Regions from separate parts of the Homo sapiens genome. Here all the other regions are linked to region 5. Evidence: promoter capture Hi-C in 16 types of primary human blood cells and fetal thymus (Javierre and others, 2016). All regions are on one chromosome and are shown on one strand. The core of a region is centred on a gene start or on the middle of the fragment in contact, and the rest is flanking DNA. Distances in the headings are between cores, read along the strand shown. Region 1 overlaps KCTD16 (potassium channel tetramerization domain containing 16). Region 2 overlaps KCTD16 (potassium channel tetramerization domain containing 16). Region 3 overlaps KCTD16 (potassium channel tetramerization domain containing 16). Region 4 overlaps KCTD16 (potassium channel tetramerization domain containing 16). Region 5 holds the start of GRXCR2 (glutaredoxin and cysteine rich domain containing 2). Region 6 overlaps KCTD16 (potassium channel tetramerization domain containing 16). Region 7 has its middle 20 kb from the start of YIPF5.

The links. Contacts are between HindIII fragments. The CHiCAGO score rates a contact against its expected background, and 5 or more counts as called.
Region 1: a fragment that was not itself captured here is called in contact with the fragment with the promoter of GRXCR2 in region 5 in 2 of 17 cell types (total B cells and naive B cells); the score reaches 5.6 in total B cells.
Region 2: a fragment that was not itself captured here is called in contact with the fragment with the promoter of GRXCR2 in region 5 in 2 of 17 cell types (naive B cells and total B cells); the score reaches 6.4 in naive B cells.
Region 3: a fragment that was not itself captured here is called in contact with the fragment with the promoter of GRXCR2 in region 5 in 6 of 17 cell types (total B cells, naive B cells, M2 macrophages and 3 more); the score reaches 11.9 in total B cells.
Region 4: a fragment that was not itself captured here is called in contact with the fragment with the promoter of GRXCR2 in region 5 in 1 of 17 cell types (total B cells); the score reaches 6.1 in total B cells.
Region 6: a contact is called between a fragment that was not itself captured here and the fragment with the promoter of GRXCR2 in region 5, in 2 of 17 cell types (naive B cells and total B cells). The highest score is 7.7, in naive B cells.
Region 7: a fragment that was not itself captured here is called in contact with the fragment with the promoter of GRXCR2 in region 5 in 1 of 17 cell types (M2 macrophages); the score reaches 5.7 in M2 macrophages.

The regions. Positions count from the first base shown.
Region 1 is chr5:144,301,510-144,304,238 of GRCh38, reverse strand. All of the region lies in intron 3 of KCTD16 (potassium channel tetramerization domain containing 16), which reads right to left. Among named protein-coding and RNA genes, the nearest start is that of KCTD16, 130 kb to the right of the region's middle. The HindIII fragment of the contact is 1,314 bases long and covers 692-2,005 here.
Region 2 is chr5:144,259,997-144,262,749 of GRCh38, reverse strand. All of the region lies in intron 3 of KCTD16 (potassium channel tetramerization domain containing 16), which reads right to left. Among named protein-coding and RNA genes, the nearest start is that of KCTD16, 90 kb to the right of the region's middle. The HindIII fragment of the contact is 1,056 bases long and covers 924-1,979 here.
Region 3 is chr5:144,220,717-144,223,646 of GRCh38, reverse strand. The region is part of intron 3 of KCTD16 (potassium channel tetramerization domain containing 16); the gene reads right to left. Among named protein-coding and RNA genes, the nearest start is that of KCTD16, 51 kb to the right of the region's middle. The HindIII fragment of the contact is 3,435 bases long and covers 1-2,930 here.
Region 4 is chr5:144,326,223-144,328,922 of GRCh38, reverse strand. All of the region lies in intron 3 of KCTD16 (potassium channel tetramerization domain containing 16), which reads right to left. Among named protein-coding and RNA genes, the nearest start is that of KCTD16, 160 kb to the right of the region's middle. The HindIII fragment of the contact is 4,124 bases long and covers 1-2,700 here.
Region 5 is chr5:145,871,639-145,874,338 of GRCh38, reverse strand. GRXCR2 (glutaredoxin and cysteine rich domain containing 2) reads left to right here and starts at 1,325. Exons shown (of 3, transcript NM_001080516.2): 1 at 1,325-1,706. The coding sequence starts at 1,371. The HindIII fragment of the contact is 6,212 bases long and covers 1-2,700 here.
Region 6 is chr5:144,242,740-144,245,439 of GRCh38, reverse strand. All of the region lies in intron 3 of KCTD16 (potassium channel tetramerization domain containing 16), which reads right to left. Among named protein-coding and RNA genes, the nearest start is that of KCTD16, 73 kb to the right of the region's middle. The HindIII fragment of the contact is 4,013 bases long and covers 1-2,700 here.
Region 7 is chr5:144,148,872-144,151,841 of GRCh38, reverse strand. No RefSeq gene overlaps it. Among named protein-coding and RNA genes, the nearest start is that of YIPF5, 20 kb to the left of the region's middle. The HindIII fragment of the contact is 2,557 bases long and covers 138-2,694 here.

The sequences.
Region 1 (2,729 bases), core at 99-2,598, 1.6 Mb after region 5:
GGCTCATCGCAGTCAACTTGGATTTAACTATGACACCCTGGTCTTTTTTTATTCTATCTAAAATAAGTGAATTTTTATCCTCACATGATTTACTTGTTTCTTTTTTCTTTACTATAAGACATTTCTTTTAGGTCTTTCATTTCCTCTTTTTATTTGAATATTTTTGTAGAGCCAGAAAATGTATACCTAAAGAAGGGGAGGAGTTTAGATTATATAAACGGGAGTGGTAAAATGGCAATTATGGGCCAAAAAGTGTCATAGATGTATATTCTGTGCCAGGATATCTTTAAGTGTGTTTAAGGCTGTGACATCTATAGGCCAGGTTGATATGCACTCTCCAATGACCACAGAACTAATTCCTGTCTTTTGTCTTAAACTCTTTTCCAGGCCTCTAATGGCATTTAAGTTTGAACTCCCAAATCCAACCAACTTATGAAACAGAAGGTGAAGGCAGGAGAGGAGAAATGACCTCCCCAGCCTCACAGAGCCACTTACTGGAGAGCCTGAGCCCCAACCTGGATCTCCTCATTTCCCACCCCCACCTAGTCCTTGCATTATCATATTTGTTGTTTCCTTATAGTGGCCTGAAAAATAAAGAGTTGATAATGAAGAGTTTTAGATGTTTTAAATGATATTTCTGATAACAACTAAACAGGTGCAGGTCACTCTGAGATAATGAGCACAAAAAGCTTAATCATGTTTGAAACTTTTGACAAGAGACTGAACCTTTGGTCATTTCCATTGCTCTTGCCACACAAAAGCCAAGGGTTCTATTTCCATCTCTGAACAACCCAGCCCAACCTCAAGGTCCTAAAGAATCTTAAAAGTGCTGTACTTGATCTTTAACAAATCATAAAAGATTTTACAGAGATCTCACAAGCCTATAAAGCTATTCATCTTTGTTCCTAAGTCTAGAAAAAGAATCACTTCCCCAGCTTAGGTAATTAAGAGTCAGCTGAAACATAGAGGGCTTGCATATGAAGTGATATAATTCTAATAACACTTGCAGAAAACATGAGTTAACTAGAGACAGCCAGCCACCCTACTGTGTAAAGAAAATTTGACTGCATTTGGAGGTCTTCTGTCCTTGACACGTCTATCAAGATTGCTAATGGCCAGCAAACCACAGGCCTTTTGAAAGGAGGCACTAACGCTCTAATAATGTCAATTATACAACCAAACACTCAACAAAACAGAAGAGAGGAAAGACTGGATGAATGATCGATAGAGGTAATTAGATTTCCCTGTACAATATAGAAATGATTTCCATATTCCACAATATCCTGCTGCTCATTCTATAGGCTGCATTTCTTTTCCACTGCTTACAGCCAACCCAAAGGGATCCAAGTTTAAAGAGACAGAACAATGAGGAAAGAAGAGGCCAAGTGGGCTTTTTAATCATTCTGTCCATATCAAATTATTAAAAACTGTTTTCATCACATACAACTGTGGCATAATCTCTCATGCAATTTGAAAACATTCTATACACTAGAGCAACTGATTTTTCCAAGGATGTTGAATGTCAGAGCTAGAATCAGAAAAACAGGGTGTTTTACAGTTAAGTTATTCTTTCTTTGATACTGTATTTGACGTACGATAATAAGTATTCAGGAAGCTAAAAGTCATTTGGGCTGATTCTAACCAGAAAGAAAAATCAGTGGGTGAAGATTTATAAATTTGTTAACAAGTCTAGATATAGCCAGGGATGAGTGAAGCTGCAACCTAGAAAAGCAATCATACTTGAAGTCTGTAGTTCTTCTGTACCAAAGATAGAACCCAAAGTCATGGTTGAACACCATCTTCTACCACCTGCCATAAAATCCTCCTTTGTTTTTGTCTTTCATATTTCACTTCATTCAAAAATATTTATTACACACTTACTGTGACAACATATATTCTTGTTTTAAACTTATTTCTCTTTCTCCTTTTGTTTCTTTTCATTTTTTTCTTCTCCCTGACACCTGCCCAGAGTACTTTGAAATTCATAAAGTGATACTATTAAGCTTGAAGACACTTGACCACTGTGCAGTGCTAAACCTGCCTGTCTCTTCACTTTTTATAATGATCACCTATGAATGTGCTCTGGGGTCAGAAAAGCTGGGTTTGAAGCTCTACTGCCTCTAGCTATTTGCTCTTGGGCAAGTCACTTAAACTATCTTCACCACAATCTTCTCATTTTTAAAAGGGGATAGTAATAAAACCTAATTTTTACATAAAACTTACTTAATTTTGCGTAAAATTTAAAAAAGAAAATATCCCAAAACTATTTAGAAGAGTGACTGCCACAGAATAAGTATTCAATAACTGAAATCTGTCATTATCATTAGAAACAATAAAATAAAATAAACATGAAATAAAATTCTTCTTCTGAATTTTCTTGTTTCCACTTTCATGAATCCTAAAAGTATCTAAAACATCAAAAGCTACTATGTTGAAGAACCAAAAATACAAGATTTTGGATGGGCAAACTGCTGAGCACTTGGTTGCTAAGGGAAGCATCAAGACACTTTTTTGTTCATGGGTTGATTAGCAAAGTGGTAATTTCCATGTTGTTAAAAATGACAGAGCGTTACCAAAGATATCCTGTTCACTATGTCGAGACGGCATTGTGCAAGTGAATTTTTAAAGTAGAGATGGATTCTTAATCCATTCTTAAGGCAAGAATTTTCCAAGCACCTACTATATACATAGAATTTCGCTAGAAACAAAGAAAGATATAAGCACAACAA
Region 2 (2,753 bases), core at 202-2,701, 1.6 Mb after region 5:
TCTAAATGAGTAGGGCATGAATATTAACTGATCAGTAATATAAAAACTAACAAATCAGCTCCAAAGAAGTAGGAAGGTCTTTCTCTTTTAAGACAATGTTTTGTGTTCATGAGTTCAAAGAACTGGTGTGGAAAGGATTAAAATGAGAAGAGCACATAGTTTTCCTACTTATGTTTCTTCAAGTGGTTATAAGGTATAGGAAAACCTGTTCAACCTGATAAATCATCTGATATTAGATAAAGATAAAAAATGTTTGCAGAGCAAGAATATTCTTCACCATTTGCTAGTTTTAAAACATAAATCAGGTCAGTCATGTTATTTCCTTGCTTGAAACCCTTCACAGGTTGATTATTGTTTTATCAATGAATTATATACCTTGTCCCATAGCCCACAAGTTTTGTCCTTCCTCTGCAGCCTCATCTCCTGCTATCCTTGCCCTGGTGCATGAGGCTTTGGCCAAGTTCTTTCCCAGCCGAGCTCTTGTCTTTACTTTTGCTGTTCCCTCTGCCTGGAGCATTCTTCTTTCAGTACTTTAAAAGTCTGATGTATTTTCAGGTTACAGGTCTTGGTTCATATGTTCCCTGCTTAGAGAGGCCTTCCCCGATCCATTAATTCTTACCCATCTCATCCAGCCTGCCACATTTGCCATCTTCATAGCATTGACCACTAGGTATCTATTTCTTTTTATTGTCTTTCTTTCTCAGAAAGGGAGGAACATGATTGTAGCACTCCCTGTGTCTAGCACAGTGAGTGGCAACAAATGAAGTATTCAGTAAATATTTATGAAATGGATAAATAGAAGAGTTTGAGAGAAAATAAGTATGTGAAGTACTTATTTAATCAAAATGATTCTTTAAAAAAAAAGTCATTGTCCTCATTCAGCTTTTGGGACAGATAAGTGAGAAGAGGAAAGGACTGAAGCTTCAGGTACATGGGTTGTGGGTACTTGATGAGGTTGGGAGAAGGCCAACTGGTGAAAGACTCACTGTAAAGATTAAAGAAGAAAAATAATTGTCCCTCCAGTGGCACTTGCCAAGGGTTGCAATAAGCCCGGATGTGCAGTGAAACTGCAAGGAATTTTTACACTTTGAATATCCATTTCCAGATTTCACAGAGGACTTCTCAGGTGACCTTGAATAAGCCATTTAGGTACGTTTCTGAGTTACTTAATTGAACCATCTCTATGGAGAGAGGTGATGAGGCTTGTTAATTTACATTTGTAAAAACACTTTGAAATATCTGGATGAAAGAATTGCTGCAGAGAGGAACAAAGGGTGAGGTAATATGCTCGGTCAAATTCTCCCCTTTTATAGAAGCAGAGAGGGTGCAGGCACATTTGAGGTGACTTAAGGGGTGCCTTTGCCACATTATTTTTCAAATTAATCTTCTAAGAAAACCCCCTACTTTCAGTAAATCTAGTGTTTTAAATAAATTTATAAGATACTAATCTGGTAATTATTTTCCTTTAACATTTTTCTCCTAAAGTTCCAGCTTTGTGTAAAGGAAATCTTTAGGGTATTTTCCTGGGAGGTGTTCCCTCTACAACTGTTCCTTTTTTTTTTTTCTTTTTTTTTTTTTTTTTGTTGTTGTTCCCAAAGAGCTGAAATACAGCTCCTTCTTTCATTTGTTCATTTTTAGCCTGTATCAGTGATACTCAAATCTTAAGCATGACAGCCTCTGTTGCTAAGCTAATTGGGACCCAATTGGGGTCGTTTCATCAATTCTAGACAGATATTTACAAGTTACAGTCAGATATTAAAGTAAGCTCAGGAAGGAGAAAAGTGAGAAAATTTCAAAGAAAGCTGCCAGCCTATAGAGTTAATTATATCCATTTACATAAAAAATGATATTAATAGCTACTTAAGAAATAATACCAATATAACAGAAAAAAATTAGAATAATAGTCTCTTTCGGCAAGATAAATAGAGACTCAAATATAAGACATTAATTGCTAAAACTGTCAAGGCAAAAGCCAAGCTTTAAAAAAACAAACAACAACAACAACAAAAAAAACAGGCAACCATCTTTTTCGACATGCTACACCAATTATACACTTGCGATTCTGCCCAAATGACCATAAATCTCACATTATAGTTTCATTTATGTCTTTTTGGACCTTATAATTCTTATTTCTTTGGGAGGAAGCAATAAACAACTTTATTACTTGCTCTCAGAAATAATAGGAAGGATTTATTTGCCTTACTGTGCCTTGCTCTTCCTTGAAGAGGACTGAAGCTCCTTGTCCCTTTCAATGGATCTAGACAAGACACTTGTCCTAGGAAACTGCTTCTTCAGAAGGCTGCAGAGCTTGGTGTTCTTTCTCCATCATATCTTTCAGAATTTTCTTTAACTACTTTACCCTTGAAATCTCTTCTTCCTCAGCAGACAGCTGGGCCCCTTCTAGCTGCTCAGAGGCCATGCAGAGTTTAATTATTTCCAGGTCAAGTCCTGCATGCTGTCAATGAGCACACGACAGCTCATTCTTGAGTGCATCCTAGACCATATCCACAATCCCAGTTACATGAATACTGCATATGGAGCCACAGGAGAGGTTTTCCACAAACAGTCTTACTTCTCAGGACTTTTTCTTGTCTGCTCATACACGAACTGCATGAATGGAGTGAGAACAATTGCTCTATCTCTTATTTCCCTTTTTTATGCCAAAGTTTGCTTAGCTTTTGAGCTAACTATCCTAAGAGATGCCTTTCATTTCATGCAGACTGGAAAGATGAAATGCAACCTGCTTAGGGGCT
Region 3 (2,930 bases), core at 300-2,799, 1.7 Mb after region 5:
AAAAATGTACTTCACACTTTCATCCAGCATTGCAGTTTACAGGACTTGGATAAGGGATTTGTTTTAATCTGTTTGGCTAGGACCTAGGATCTACACACCATAACGGTACAATTATTACACAAGTCAGGAAGATCCAAATGTACCCATATCTTGGATGTATGATACTGAACTGTATAAAAATATAGGGCTGATGCTACCATTCTATTAAAACCTATTTTTCATTTTATCTTCTTTATTTCTTTACTAGCTTATTAGCTACATATCTGTGTTTTGTTACTTTAATGATGTCTTTAGAATTTATAGTACATATTTTTAACTTTCTACTATCTACTTTTTTATACATATATTATTTTTATTATACTTTAAGTTCTAGGGTACGTGTGCACAATGTGCAGGTTTGTTACATATGTATACATGTGCCATGTTGGTGTGCTGCACCCATTAACTCGTCATTTACATTAGGTATATCTCCTAATGCTATCCCTCCCCGCTCCCCCGACCCCACAACAGACCCTGGTGTGTGATGTTCCCCTTCCTGTGTCCAAGTGTTCTCATTGTTCAATTCCCACCTATGAGTGAGAACATGCGGTGTTTGGTTTTTTTGTCCTTGCGATAGTTTGCTGAGCATGATGGTTTCCAGCTTCATCCATGTCCCTACAAAAGACATGAACTCATCCTTTTTTACAGCTGCATAGTGTTCCATGCTGTATATGTGCCCCATTTTCTTAATCCAGTCTATCATTGTTGGACATTTGGGTTGGTTCCAAGTCTTTGCTATTGTGAACAGCGCCGCAGTAAACATACGTGTGCATGTGTCTTTATAGCAGCATGATTTATAATCCTTTGGGTATATACCCAGTAATGGGATGGCTGGGTCAAATGGTATTTCTAGTTCTGGATATTTGAGGAATCGCTACGCTGTCTTCCACAATGGTTGAACTAGTTTACAGTCCCACCAACAGTGTAAAAGTGTTCCTATTTCTCCACATCCTCTCCAGCACCTGTCGTTTCCTGACTTTTTAATGATCGCCATTCTAACTGGTGTGAGATGGTATCTCATTGTGGTTTTGATTTGCATTTCTCTGATGGCCAGCAATGATGAGCATTTTTTCATGTGTCTGTTGGCGGCATAAATGTCTTCTTTTGAGAAGTGTATGTCTACTTCTAAGTGATATTATGCCGCTTTGTGCACATAGGAATCTTACAATGGCATATCCTCATTTATCTGCTCCAGGCCCTTGGATTATAGTTGTTATGCATCTTACTTTAATGTTGAATACCCCACACCACATTATTACTTTTTCTTTAATCGCTAGTCTTATAATAATTTAAATAATAGAAATGTATTTGCCCATTAAAATACTTATTTTTTATTTTGACCATTGATATATAAATGCTTTTGCAACTCTCTAAAAAAAGCAGTTAGAACTGGCAACCTACAGAATGGGAGAACATTTTTGCAATCTATCCATTGACAAAAGGCTAATACCCAGAATGTACAAAGAACTTTAAAAAATTCACAAGAAAAAAACAAACAACCCCATCAAAAAATGGGCAAAGGTGAACAGACACTTCTCAAAAGAAGATATTTATGCGGTCAACAAACATATGAAAAAAAGCTCATCATCACTGGTCATTAGAGAAATGCAAATCAAAACCACAATGAGATACCATCTCACGCCAGTTAGAATGGCAATCATTAAAAAGTCAGGAAACAACAGGTGCTGGGGAGGATGTGGAGAAATAGGAACACTTTTACACTGTTGATGGGAGTGTAAATTAGTTCAACCATTGTGGAAGACAGTGTGGGGATTCCTCAAGGATCAAGAACCAGAAATACCATTTGACGCAGCAATCCCATTACTGGGTATATACCCAAAGGATTATAAATCATCCTACTCTAAAGACACATGCACACGTATGTTTATTACAGTACCGTTCACAATAGCAAAGACTTCAAACCAACCCAAATGCCCATCAATAATAGACTGGATAAAGAAATGTGGCACATATACACCATGGAATACTATGCAGCCATAAAAAGGGATGAATTCATGTCCTTTGCAGGGACACGGATGAAGCTGGAAACCATCATTCTCAGCAAACTAACACAAGAACAGAAAACCAAACACTGCATGTTCTCACTCATAAGTGAGAGTTGAACAATGAGAACACATGGACACAGAGAAAGGATCATCACACACTGGGGCCTGTCAGGGGGTGGGGGGCAAGGGGAGTCATAACATTAGGAGAAATACCTAATGTAGGTGATGGGATGATGGGTGCAGCAAACCACCATGGCATGTGTATACCTATGTAACAAACCTGCACGTTCTGCACATGTATCCCAGAACTTAAAGTATAATAATAATAATACTAAAGCAGATTTAATGTCTCTCTTCTTCATTACGCATCCTTAAGACATTCTCTAGATGTTCACTCAAGCTAATATAAAATCTGCCTTAATAGCAGACATCTAATAAGCAACATGGCCACTTTACATATGTGGTATTATTTGCTACTCAGTGTCTTACAATGCAGTTACATAGATCTACCATTCCTGTCATACAACGGAGGTACCTAAGGAATCTGACTTAGCAAAGTGACTTTGCCCACTCCTGTCCACATCTCTTAACCTCTTTCTCAAGGTTCAAGTTGCCCTTTTCTTTTTTATCTTTCACTCATTTCTTCTTCTTTTTTTTTTTTGAGACGTAGTCTCGCTCTGTCGCCCAGGCTGGAGTGCAGTGGCGTGATCTCGGCTCACTGCAACCTCCGTCTCCTGCGTTCATGCCATTCTCCTGCCTCAGCCTCCCAGGTAGCTGGGACTACAGGTGCCCGCCACCACGCCCGGCTAATTTTTTATATTTTTAGTAGAGACGGGGTTTCACCGTGTTAGCCAGGATGGTCTCGATCTCCTGACCTAGTGATCC
Region 4 (2,700 bases), core at 31-2,530, 1.5 Mb after region 5:
AACGATTGGCATCAATGAATCAGGCAATAAGAAATCAGATGCTGATAAAAAAAAAAAAAGAAAAAAGCTACAGCAAAGTCTTTCCCAGCCATAAGATGCAGGAAAATGAGAGTGCTTTTCACAGTGGAGAAGGACAGAATGATTCCATAAAGCAGGCGGGCAAAACCCACAGTAGATCTCCAGCTATGAGTAGCAGGGTGTAGCTGACAGCAGCTGGACACACACTGGAGGCCTGTGATAGAGGGCCTTGATGTTCAGGCTAGAGAGTCTAGAGGTCCTTAGGAGCCACAGTTAGTTTACACATAGATGATGTAATGCACATGAAAAACAACAGGATAAAATTGTTTCAGCACTTAATTTCGCAGGAATACACACTCACTGCTTGCAAAATAAAAAAAAATAAAAAAAATAAAAAAAAAAGAGGATATTCGCTTCCTGGTCCTATCCCACACACTCAAATCAACAGGCAGAACAATTGCTAGTCTCAGGGGAAGGCCTACTCCGAAAGAGAGGAGATACAGATTGATTCTGGTAAGATCTCTTCTTCCTCTTCCTCGGCCTCTAAATAAGATTAATGAGGAGATTTATGTAATTGCCTAGTGAATTCACAACCACATATGCACCTTTCCATGAATTGTCAAACTTGTCTGAGTATCATATTAATGTGTGACTTTAATATTGTCTCCAACATAACTCTGATGGTGTTAAAACAGGCTAAAATATGAGCAGAACTTTTCATTCTTTATTTCTCCTTTCTAAAAATATTTATTGAGTACTGTGTTAGGTGCAGTGGGGATCCTGAGATAAAAAGCACTGCTCTACACTCACTTTTCTCACTTTCTAAGTGAGGAGAGAAAGTAAACCAATTTTTATACATAGTGTGATGTTGTTGGTGGGAGGCTAATTGATGAAACATTTTGTAGAGTTAATCTACCAATATTAAATAAACACACGCCCTCAGACCCTGAAATCCCACTGTTTTGGATGTATCCTGAAGACATACTTGCAGATGTTCACCAGGGATTCTTCACTGCAGTGTTTATAACATCGGAAAGCTGCAAACCAGCAAAGTGTTTGTAATTAGGAACCCAAATAATTATAAATTATAAAACATCCATAAAATGGAATTATTAGATAGCTGTTTTAAAAAATGACGCAAGCCTGCATGTGTTCATAGAATTACATCCTACATATATTAAATAAAAAGCAGGATGAAAAATATTTCCAAAAATATGATTTTTTGTGGGTCATTTTTTTAATTCATGTGTATATTTAGTCACATGTGCATCGGAAAATGCAAAATTTCTGTTTTATGGAAAGAAACACAAGAAACTGTTAACAGTGATTATCTGTAGAAAGGGAGACTGAGGTACACATATAAAAACATCAAATAAAATTAATTATTTCAAAATACTGTGTGGCAAGCATACACAGCTCTATATTGGATACCATGGAAACAGGAAGAAGGGTTCATGAATTCTAATGGGAAGAGATAGGCAAGATCAGGAAAACCATCCAAAAAAGGTAATAGTTGAAGACAGAGCCAGCATTAGACTTGGAGGAGCAATCAGGAAGGCACAAAGCTATTCTAGAAGATGCATTTTTGGAAATTGACTGAATCTTCAAATCTAGTAGGTATATGTCACTCATAGCAAGGAGAAGGGCTTACTTAGAAATAATATCCAAATTCCATAGATCACTAGAACATAGGTTCTTAGCTGCAGGCCACCAATATTATGTAGCCTTAAAAAATACTATATGTACTTCTGTCTGAGGAAATACTGTCATACCTGCACCTAGAGGCAAAATCTTCACCGTTGCCAACATTGCCACCATAGCTTCCAGCGGTAAATAGTTTTGCTTCCACACCAATAAGTTCCAAATGGATCGTTTAGTTCCCGCACTCTATCAAATGCTAAATTTTCCTCAAAACTCTGCAATTTCCTCAGAATTTTCTCAGAACGCTCAGTTACTGAATTTATACTCTAATTACTTCAAATATGTTGAAGGCTGGCCATAATGTTATAATATAGGGACAGGAAACCTTTTAATTACAAATACAACATATCTGCTTGGAAGAGTCTTTCATTACTGAGGATAAGAATTTTAAGAAGCACTTTGTTAAGGATAATTTATTTCCCAAAAGACAAAGAATTAGGTCCTAGAGGCAAATAAAAGGAACTGGATTTTTCTTTCTTTCTTTTTTTCTTCTCTTTTCTTTCTTTTTTTTTTGTGAATTACAAACTGATCTTTCAACTAGGTGAAAATCCAACTCCCCATAAAAGCCTCCTTGCAGTCATTTTCAGTTAAGAAGAGAATAGTGGGAGGTATTGAAATGAGAAGAAATGATTAGTTATAAGGTCCAATTTGTTTTATATGTGAAACAGTATTTATTTTATTTCCATTTTAATACTTTGAATTGCACAGATTGAGTGGAGTTTCATAAGGCAGATGGCAAAATATTTCAACTTATCATAAACTAGTATACTTAATGGAAAAGGTTACAAACATTTTTTAAAAATTTATACTATCAATAGATCTATTTGTTCCTCGATGAGATAATTATTTTCTATTTTTCTCCTGCTAGTTTCAGGCATCCACTGATATTCTGTATTTACTATTACCCTCTCAGTCAATTTACTTCACAGACTTTATTGTCACAGACTTAGGCATCCATGTTAGAGATGGTGTTCTTGAAGG
Region 5 (2,700 bases), core at 76-2,575:
CCAGCTACTCGGGAGGCTGAGGCATGAGAATTGCTCGAACTCAGGAGGTGGAGGTTGCAGTGAGCCGAGATCGTACCACTGCACTCCAGCCTGGCAACAGAGTGAGACTCCGTCTCAAAAAAAAAAAAATAAAATAAAATAATAAAAAAAAAGAATCCAAGCGAATGGCTGTAGGGGAATAGGAGGGGTCAATTTGGGTAACTCAGTAAATGGTGATGCTGGTAGCAAAGACAGGGAGAAAGGCTTTACTCCACTTTCAGCTCCTCACATCCAACCTACCATTTTCTACCCAGCCCAAGGGCCCTTTTCTTTACAAACCTTCTTCCATCCTTGTCTCCTTAGAGACCACTTCCTTCCCAGAGTGGCTATTCTGGGATTCAGCTGTGGGCAGTTTGCTCTCTAAGCATGAGGTTATTATTTCACCTGTGTGAGGTCTGTATGGGATTGTAGGACTGTTCTCAGGCCCAGGTCACATGCTTCTGTGCTATTCACTCCAGCCACTAGTTCAGTGTCAGGCATTTACGAAGTCCAACAGGCAATGGGGACTTGTGCTGTGATTGCAAATGAAATCTTAAATGTAAAATACATACCAAGTGGAGGTGCTCTGGTTAGCGTAGGGGGAGAAGGCCCAGAATCCAGGACCCTCGGCCTTCTCCTGTTCTTAGCAGCAGCCTCCAAGAACCTCCACTGTATCTAGGACGTCATTCCCTCTTCTAGAACCAGAACTGGAAAACTTCTGGTTGTGTGGGCTGATCTTGGGTTTTGGAGTCAGATAGATCTGGGTTCAAATCCCTGCTCTGTCACTTACTTAGGTGTAATAGAGCAGACAAATGATGAAGATAAATGACAAGTGGCTCTAAGCCTCACTTTCCCCTGTGTAAAACAAAGGTAAGATTTTCTTTGTAGGGTTATCGTGAGGATGAAATAAAATAATGCATGTAACAATCTCTGGTACTTATGAAATGCTCACTAGATTTTAATTGTCATTGCTAACAATAAGAAGACACTTGTTAACTAATTGAGTGTCTGATCCTTATTGAATTGGCACATGTTCAGTCTAAATAAACTTCTTCATCCTCAGGTTAAGAAAGGTTAGGGTTGGGGTGAAGTCATGGTGAGCTTGGGATTATGAGAAGAATCAATCTTGTCTTATATTCCATCCACTCCATCAAACCAGAATCACCTGCCTTTTCATGAGGGTCTATCAATATTTAATGTATGGGTGTCAGTTGCTGTAAACTGACCATACCCCAGCAACAACTTGAATTAATTATATGCAGGAGGAGAGAAAATAAAATGCCTTTTTCTCAGAGGCCCAAGTTTCACCGGCTGCACGGAAGGCTGGAGACCACAGGGTCAACTTTCTGCTGATGGAGGACCCTGAGAAAAAGCTGAATCAGAAGAGTGATGGCAAACCCCGGAAAGTACGATTTAAAATCTCCTCCTCCTACAGCGGTCGAGTATTGAAGCAGGTCTTTGAGGATGGGCAGGAATTAGAGTCACCAAAGGAGGAATACCCTCACAGTTTTCTGCAAGAGTCTCTTGAAACAATGGATGGTGTTTATGGGTCTGGGGAAGTCCCCAGGCCCCAGATGTGCTCCCCTAAGCTGACTGCTCAGAGGATCAGTGTGTTTAGAGAGGGTAATGCCTACACCTTGGCAGGCGGCCAGCCTCGGTTCAACGATTACAAGGCGAATGACCATAAGGTTGGTATTGTGCATGGCATATAGGCTTTAAGGGTAGGGCTTCCTAAAACGTGTTTAGAGAAACTCCTAAATGGTTCAGATTTGTGTCTTGCTCCCCCTCCGGTACCAACCAGAACTGTTGGTGCACCAAATGGGAAGTTGTTATTAGACGAATATTTCTGGGGTAAAAATAACATGCTTGTTGACTACTAATTGGAAAGTGCAATGAGCATATATAGTATTCAAATTCCATCCAAGGTAATACATTGTAATTGGATCTTTGACTGAGTTTTCCTGGAATGTAAATTAAATAGAGGTGCAGTGGTTTTCAGGTTGTCAGACTGCGGTTTTAGACAATTATGCAGTCATTTTGTTTCCTGAAAGAGCTGAGTATTTGAAAGTGCTCATTTTACTCCAGCCAATTACTCAGCTTGCAGTTTATCCATGTCTTGTTTTTTACCCCTATTGCCTTCCTCATACTGCCTGCTTTGTCTATTTATTTTTCCTTTCCATTGCTCCTTAGCATAAGCTCTGGGTAGTTGGAGTCCTGGGAAGGGATGGTGAAACGCAAATCAGCCAGAGGATATGTTATGTGAGGAAGAAGTTTGAGCTAATGGTTCGATTGAAGAATGTGTTTAATCTATGAATTTCAATTACTTCCCAGTACCATGGATAATCAAAAGTCCATACATGATTTTCTTTTAAGGTAGAACCTGGAAAACATACACTGGTATCCAAAAATTCATAGGAGATGTATATATGCTGTCAGTGGGACCATGAATGACTTCTTAAAAAAGATAAAATACAATTATATAATGTATCCACGTTATTAATGAATAGCACACCAGGATGTGTTCTCATCTTTAAAGTGTGAAAGCCAGATAATTACTCTTGAATTATTTTTATTGTTAGTTTCCTAAGGGAATAGATAACACATCTATTGCAGACAAATGTATTACTGGCTTTACTGGCATTGGTAAAAGTATAATTATGGGCATGTTCACAATTACCGAAG
Region 6 (2,700 bases), core at 47-2,546, 1.6 Mb after region 5:
AATACTCTTATTTCCTCCATGTGTCTTGTTAACTCCTATACTTAAAGTCGCACCGCAACCATAACTTCCTTGCGGATGTTTTCCTTGACTTCTCTGATGAGGTTAAACCCTCTATTCCCTCATTATACACTCTTATATTAAAATAGTCTTCTCTTTCAAAGTATCTACCACAGTTGTATCTTTCCATTTATTAGTTTGATTCTTTGATTAATTTTTATCTCCCTTCTAGACTGTATGCTTCTTTAAGACAAAGATTGTGTGTGTATTTTCTCCCTAATCCTCATCACCCAGCACAATAGCAGGTCCATTGAAGATATTTAGTAATTATTTGTCAAATAAATAAATAAATGTACAATGGAATAAACAAAACATACAGTTTAAATTTCTGAGGGTCATGATCAGCTTGTAATAGAATATTGATCATTGTCTTCTCATATCTGGAGCTTTCTAATCTTATAATAATCTCCAAGGTTCACATCTGATGACAAGCCAAAATAATGCCTAATGATGTTACAGTTCACCCATGATTTTCAGCTTTCAAGGAGCTTTCATAGTCACTACTACATTTCATTTGATTCTCAAAACCATCCTAGGAGGGGATTTGTTACTGGCTTCATTTTTACCAATTAAGAATCTGAAGCTCAAAATGATACAAAGTTAAGGTTAGAATTCTGACCACAAAAGGCTCCTGGCAGATCAGTCTAGGGAAAGTGAGAAACTAGGAATTGGGTCTACTTTGAAGGTACATTGGGAAAGATATCTAAAAATAGAGATCTCTCCAATCCCAAGCAAAAACACAGGTTTAATGTGTTAAAGAGGTTATTTTGTTAATATGGAGATATAATGGATCACACATTGACCTGACCATAAAGTATATCTGATATGGAAGTGCAAAAATGAAAAGAAAAACAGTTAGTCCAATTCTGTGGAATTGACTTAGCAACCCTCACCAATTTGTCCTTTATATATATCTGTTTTGTGATTATTCTTTCTACTGCATGACAGCCAACTGCAAATAGACTTTCCTATCTCTATTTATCTATACAATGCAATTTAGCACTTTGTTATCAAATTTGCTCTTAATGCTTCCTATGTATACCTTTAGAATCACAACTAAAATAGAAGTAGGCAGGAACCATGTCTTAGCATAACTCAGTATGTCATAATCAAGCATCTTATAGATCATTTGACCAAACCATCTCTTTTTATAGAAGCATGACAATCCCAAAATAAATTGCCAAGATGTTGAGAAGAGATTTTGAGGGTCTTGAGCTACACAAAGACATAAATTACAGTCCTGAATCCCCCAAAGAGTGGGGAGTCTTAGAAACTCTCCATGCTTTGGTTAGAATACTCCCAAAGAGTTACATGCCATAAATAGAAAAGTATTCATGGGGGGCTGGACGCGGTGGCTCATGCCTGTAATCCTAGCACTTTGGGAGGCCGAGGCAGGTAGATCATGAAGTCAGGAGATCGAGACCCTCCTGGCCAACATGGTGAAACCCCGTCTCTACTAAAATACAAAAAAATTAGCCGGGCGTGATGGCGTGCACCTGTAGTCCCAGCTACTCAGGAGGCTGAGGCAGGAGAATCACTTGAACCCAGGAGGCGGAGGTTGCAGTGAGCCAACATCGTGCCACTGCACTCCATCCTGGTGACAGAACGAGACTCTCTCTCTCTCTAAAAAAAACAAAACAAAAAAAAGAGTATTCATGGGGACAGAAGTTCTTCAAGTCATCTGGACCTTTGAATTTGGGTTAAGGTAACCCAGGGTAGCTAGTACCGTAGTCTTCTGCTTTAAGTAAAAATAAATCCTCTGTGGAGGAAAATCATCTTAGACTTCACTTTACTCTGAAGTTTTTTCAAATAAATGTCTGGGATTTAGTAGAAATAAGCCACACAGAAGAAGAGAAAAGAAAAAAGGATAACAAAAAGATAGAACAGATACACAACATAAACAAATACACATGGGATCCAAATAATAAGGTCATCAGGCATAGAGTATTTTACCACATACAAAGAGATAATAGAATTCCAAATAATTTATGCTGATATTCTCCCCTTGAGGAGGAGCACAACTTCCCTCTCCTTAGGTGTGGACTGCACATAGTGACTTCTTCTGAAAGAGTACAGTATGAAAAAGAGAAAGAAAGAGTAACTTTATACTGGAGAAACATGACAGCCACTATCTCAATCAAATAATCAAGATCCACATCAAAAGTAATAATCAAGATCCACATCAAAAGTAATAAGTCACATTAATAATGTGTACCCTTGATATGATGTGATGAAAATGACACTTTACATCTATGGTCTTCCTCCCAAATACCCATAACCCTAGTCTAATTATGAGAAAACATCAGCCAAAGGAGCCTAAGGAAATAAAATATTAAATGTAATATGTTATCCCAGATGGAATCTTGAAACAGGAAAAGGTCAGTAGGTAAAAACTAAACCTGAATACATTATGGACTTCAGTTAATAATAATTGCTATGATTTAGATATTTATCCCTTCCAAACCTCACGTTTGATCCCCAATATTAGAGATGGGCCCAATGGGAGGTCTTAGGTCATGGGGTTAGATCCCTCATGAATAGATTAATGCCTCTCCTTGGGCTTAAGTGAGTTCTGGTTCTATTTGTTCCTAGTTGTAAAAAGAGCCTGGAGCCTCCTCCTCCCCTTGCTTCCTCTATGACCAT
Region 7 (2,970 bases), core at 167-2,666, 1.7 Mb after region 5:
CTGCTTGAGATTTTCCTGGTTTAGGAACTTGGAAAATGTTTTCCACCCTTGTTCTATGAGTTTTCCCAATGAAGTTCCAAGCCATTAAGTGCCCACCATGAACAAAGCCCTGCTTTTGGCTTCCTCCTTAGCAAGCTTAATATTCTCTACTTCGATGTTTTGTTTTTTGTTTTTTTTCCGCCCCATAACTTATTTTCTTTTTCTAATTGCCTTTGGATTAATCTCTAAATCCCTTCCGAATTCTTCATGTCTTTCTTTAATTGTATAGTCCAGATCAGGAAAATGCATGTTTCATGTATCTAATCATGAGTGTGTAAAGGTGACCTCACATCTTTTTCTTTTTTTTTTTTTTTTTTTTTGACAGGCTCTTGCTCTGTTGCCTCGGCTGGAGTGCAGTGGTGCATTCATGGCTTACTGCAGCCTTGACCTTTCGGGCTGAAGTCCTCCCTCCTCAGCCTGCCGAGTAGCTAGGACCACAGGCACACGCTACCACCACACTTGGAATTTTTTTTACATATTTTTGTAGAGACAGAGTATCACTATGTTGCTGAGGCTAGTCTTGAACTCCTGGGCTCAAGCAGTCCTCCCACCTTAGCCTCCCAATATGCTGGAATTACAGGAATGAGCCACTGTGCCCAACCATCTATTTCTTTTCATGTAACTAAGTGACACATTTCTTGCATACTTTTGAACTGACAGTGGTAAATACATATCTTAGTGCTCACCCTGTTATGGGTAAAAAACTTGGTAAGATTTTGAATAAGTAATTTTTGTGCCTTAATTTTCTCTATATAAAATGAAGAAATTGTATTAGATTCTTTAAAGCATTTCAATTCTGAAATTCTACAATTTCTGAGATGGTGATAAGATTTTAGCCATATTAAAAAGAGAATAAATACTGACATGGTAAAGTTTTCCCTGAATATATTTTAATTTTATCAGGAAGTATATATAGTATACCATCTTTGTAAAACAAAAAGAACTTTACATATTTGTGTGTGTGTGTGCATGTGTGTACACACACACTTGCCACCTGGGACAAATATTTTACTAAATGAGAGAATTAATGAATTTATAGATGCTGTTTTCAAACTTCTTGATTGGAAGAAGTTTTAACTATACCTTAGAAAGAAAATGTAATTTTGCTACAATGACGCTTAATGTAATTTTGACTTTTAAATATTTTGTCCTTGGCTGGGTGTAATGATTCACACCTGTTATCCCAGCAATTTGAGAGGCCATGTGCTTCAGCCCAGGAGTTCGAGACCAGCCTGTAATATAGTAAGACCCTGTCTCTACAAAAATAAAAATATTAGTCAGGCATGGTGGTGTACACCTATAGACCCAGCTACTTGGGAAGCTGAGGTGGGAGGATCACTTGAGCATAAGAGGTTGAGACTGCAGTGAGCCATAATCACACTGTACTCCAGCCTGGGCGACAGAGGGAGACCCTGGCTCAATCAATAAACAAATAAAATGTTGTCCTTCCAGTCTAATTGCATTGAAAAATATAGCTATTACCCAGGCATATCACCCATAGTTCAGAGTTTGATATTCTACCATTAGATTAATTTTTTTTCTTTTTGGTTCATCAGTGCCTCTCTCAATCTTGTAGGTACCTGATTCACTCTAAAGTACCAAGGACGTTCATCTCTATTAGCACTAGCCTCCTGGGGTGTAACGTGACTCTTCACAAAAAGTCCAGTAACCATTTCCTTAGTTCAATAACTAATACATCTTTGAGAAATTGAAAGCTGCACTACTCTTGAAGAAAGCAATTGTGTTCATTTCAGCAACATGGAAAGTCCAGGAAAAACTAGTATGACTCTCCAAAGGCAATGCTTATAAAGGAGAGGGAGACTTTATGTTGTTTATTAATAGATTTGATTTTTATATTTATCATAAGATGTAATATATGCAATAAGATAAAAAGTATAATAGCATGTCCCTTGCATTTAGAGTGAAATGTGAAAACAATATTAAATCTATCTAAAACACCCTGCATATTCTTTAATTACATCCCATATCTTCCCCTCAGAGATTACTAGTTTATCATTTTGAGCATTTCTTTATATTTTTACTAGGTATGTATCTATTCTTAAAAATTGTAGTATTACTTGGCATGTTTTTGACTTTTATATAAATGATACAATGCTGTGCTTTTCTTCTGTAACTTGCTTTTTTTACTCCTAAGTTTCTGCAGTTCAGTTATGTGAGTACTTGGTGACGCTCTGTTTACTGGTCTGTATTATACCATGAGTATATCATCACGCATTGATCCATTTTTCTGCTAATAGACATTATGTTTGTCTCCAGTCTTGCTTTTACAAACAATGGTCTGTAAGCAGTGTATCTACCGTGTGTGCAAGGGTTTCTTTGGGTATCTACATAGGGTTGAAGTGTTACATTTGTATGGGTTTGTGTCTTTTTGCCTTATCCCATAGTCATAAAAGCAGTCTCAATAGTTCTTCTAAAGATTTTAAAGTTTTGCTTTTCACATTTAAAACTTTTTAGCCCCTTGTTATATGGAGAAGAAATCAATTTCTGGTGTTTTCCCCCATAATGCATAGCCAATTGTTCCAGCACCATTTATTTTATGGTCTCTCCAGGATAGGTACTGTTAAGCTAACCATAAAGCATTTTTCTAGGTTAGTCCTGAAAAAATGAAACCTTTTCTCTCCGTTAAGGAAAGCTTTTCTCTCCTTTATCTCTTTAAAAAATTGTCTGTATTTTTCTTCCTCCTCTAGCCTCAGTCTCTCTGCTTTTACCTTAATGGTATCTGCTTTATTAATGGAAAAGATACATGACTTAGAAGAAGTAGTATCTCAGGACAGTGTGACTCCCTATATCCTAAACCAGGGGTCAGCAAACTTTTTCTGTATCAGGCTAGATAATAAATATTTTAGGCTTTACTGGCCAAGAGGCAAAATCAAGGATATTATGTATAATATCTATACATGTAAAATAGGT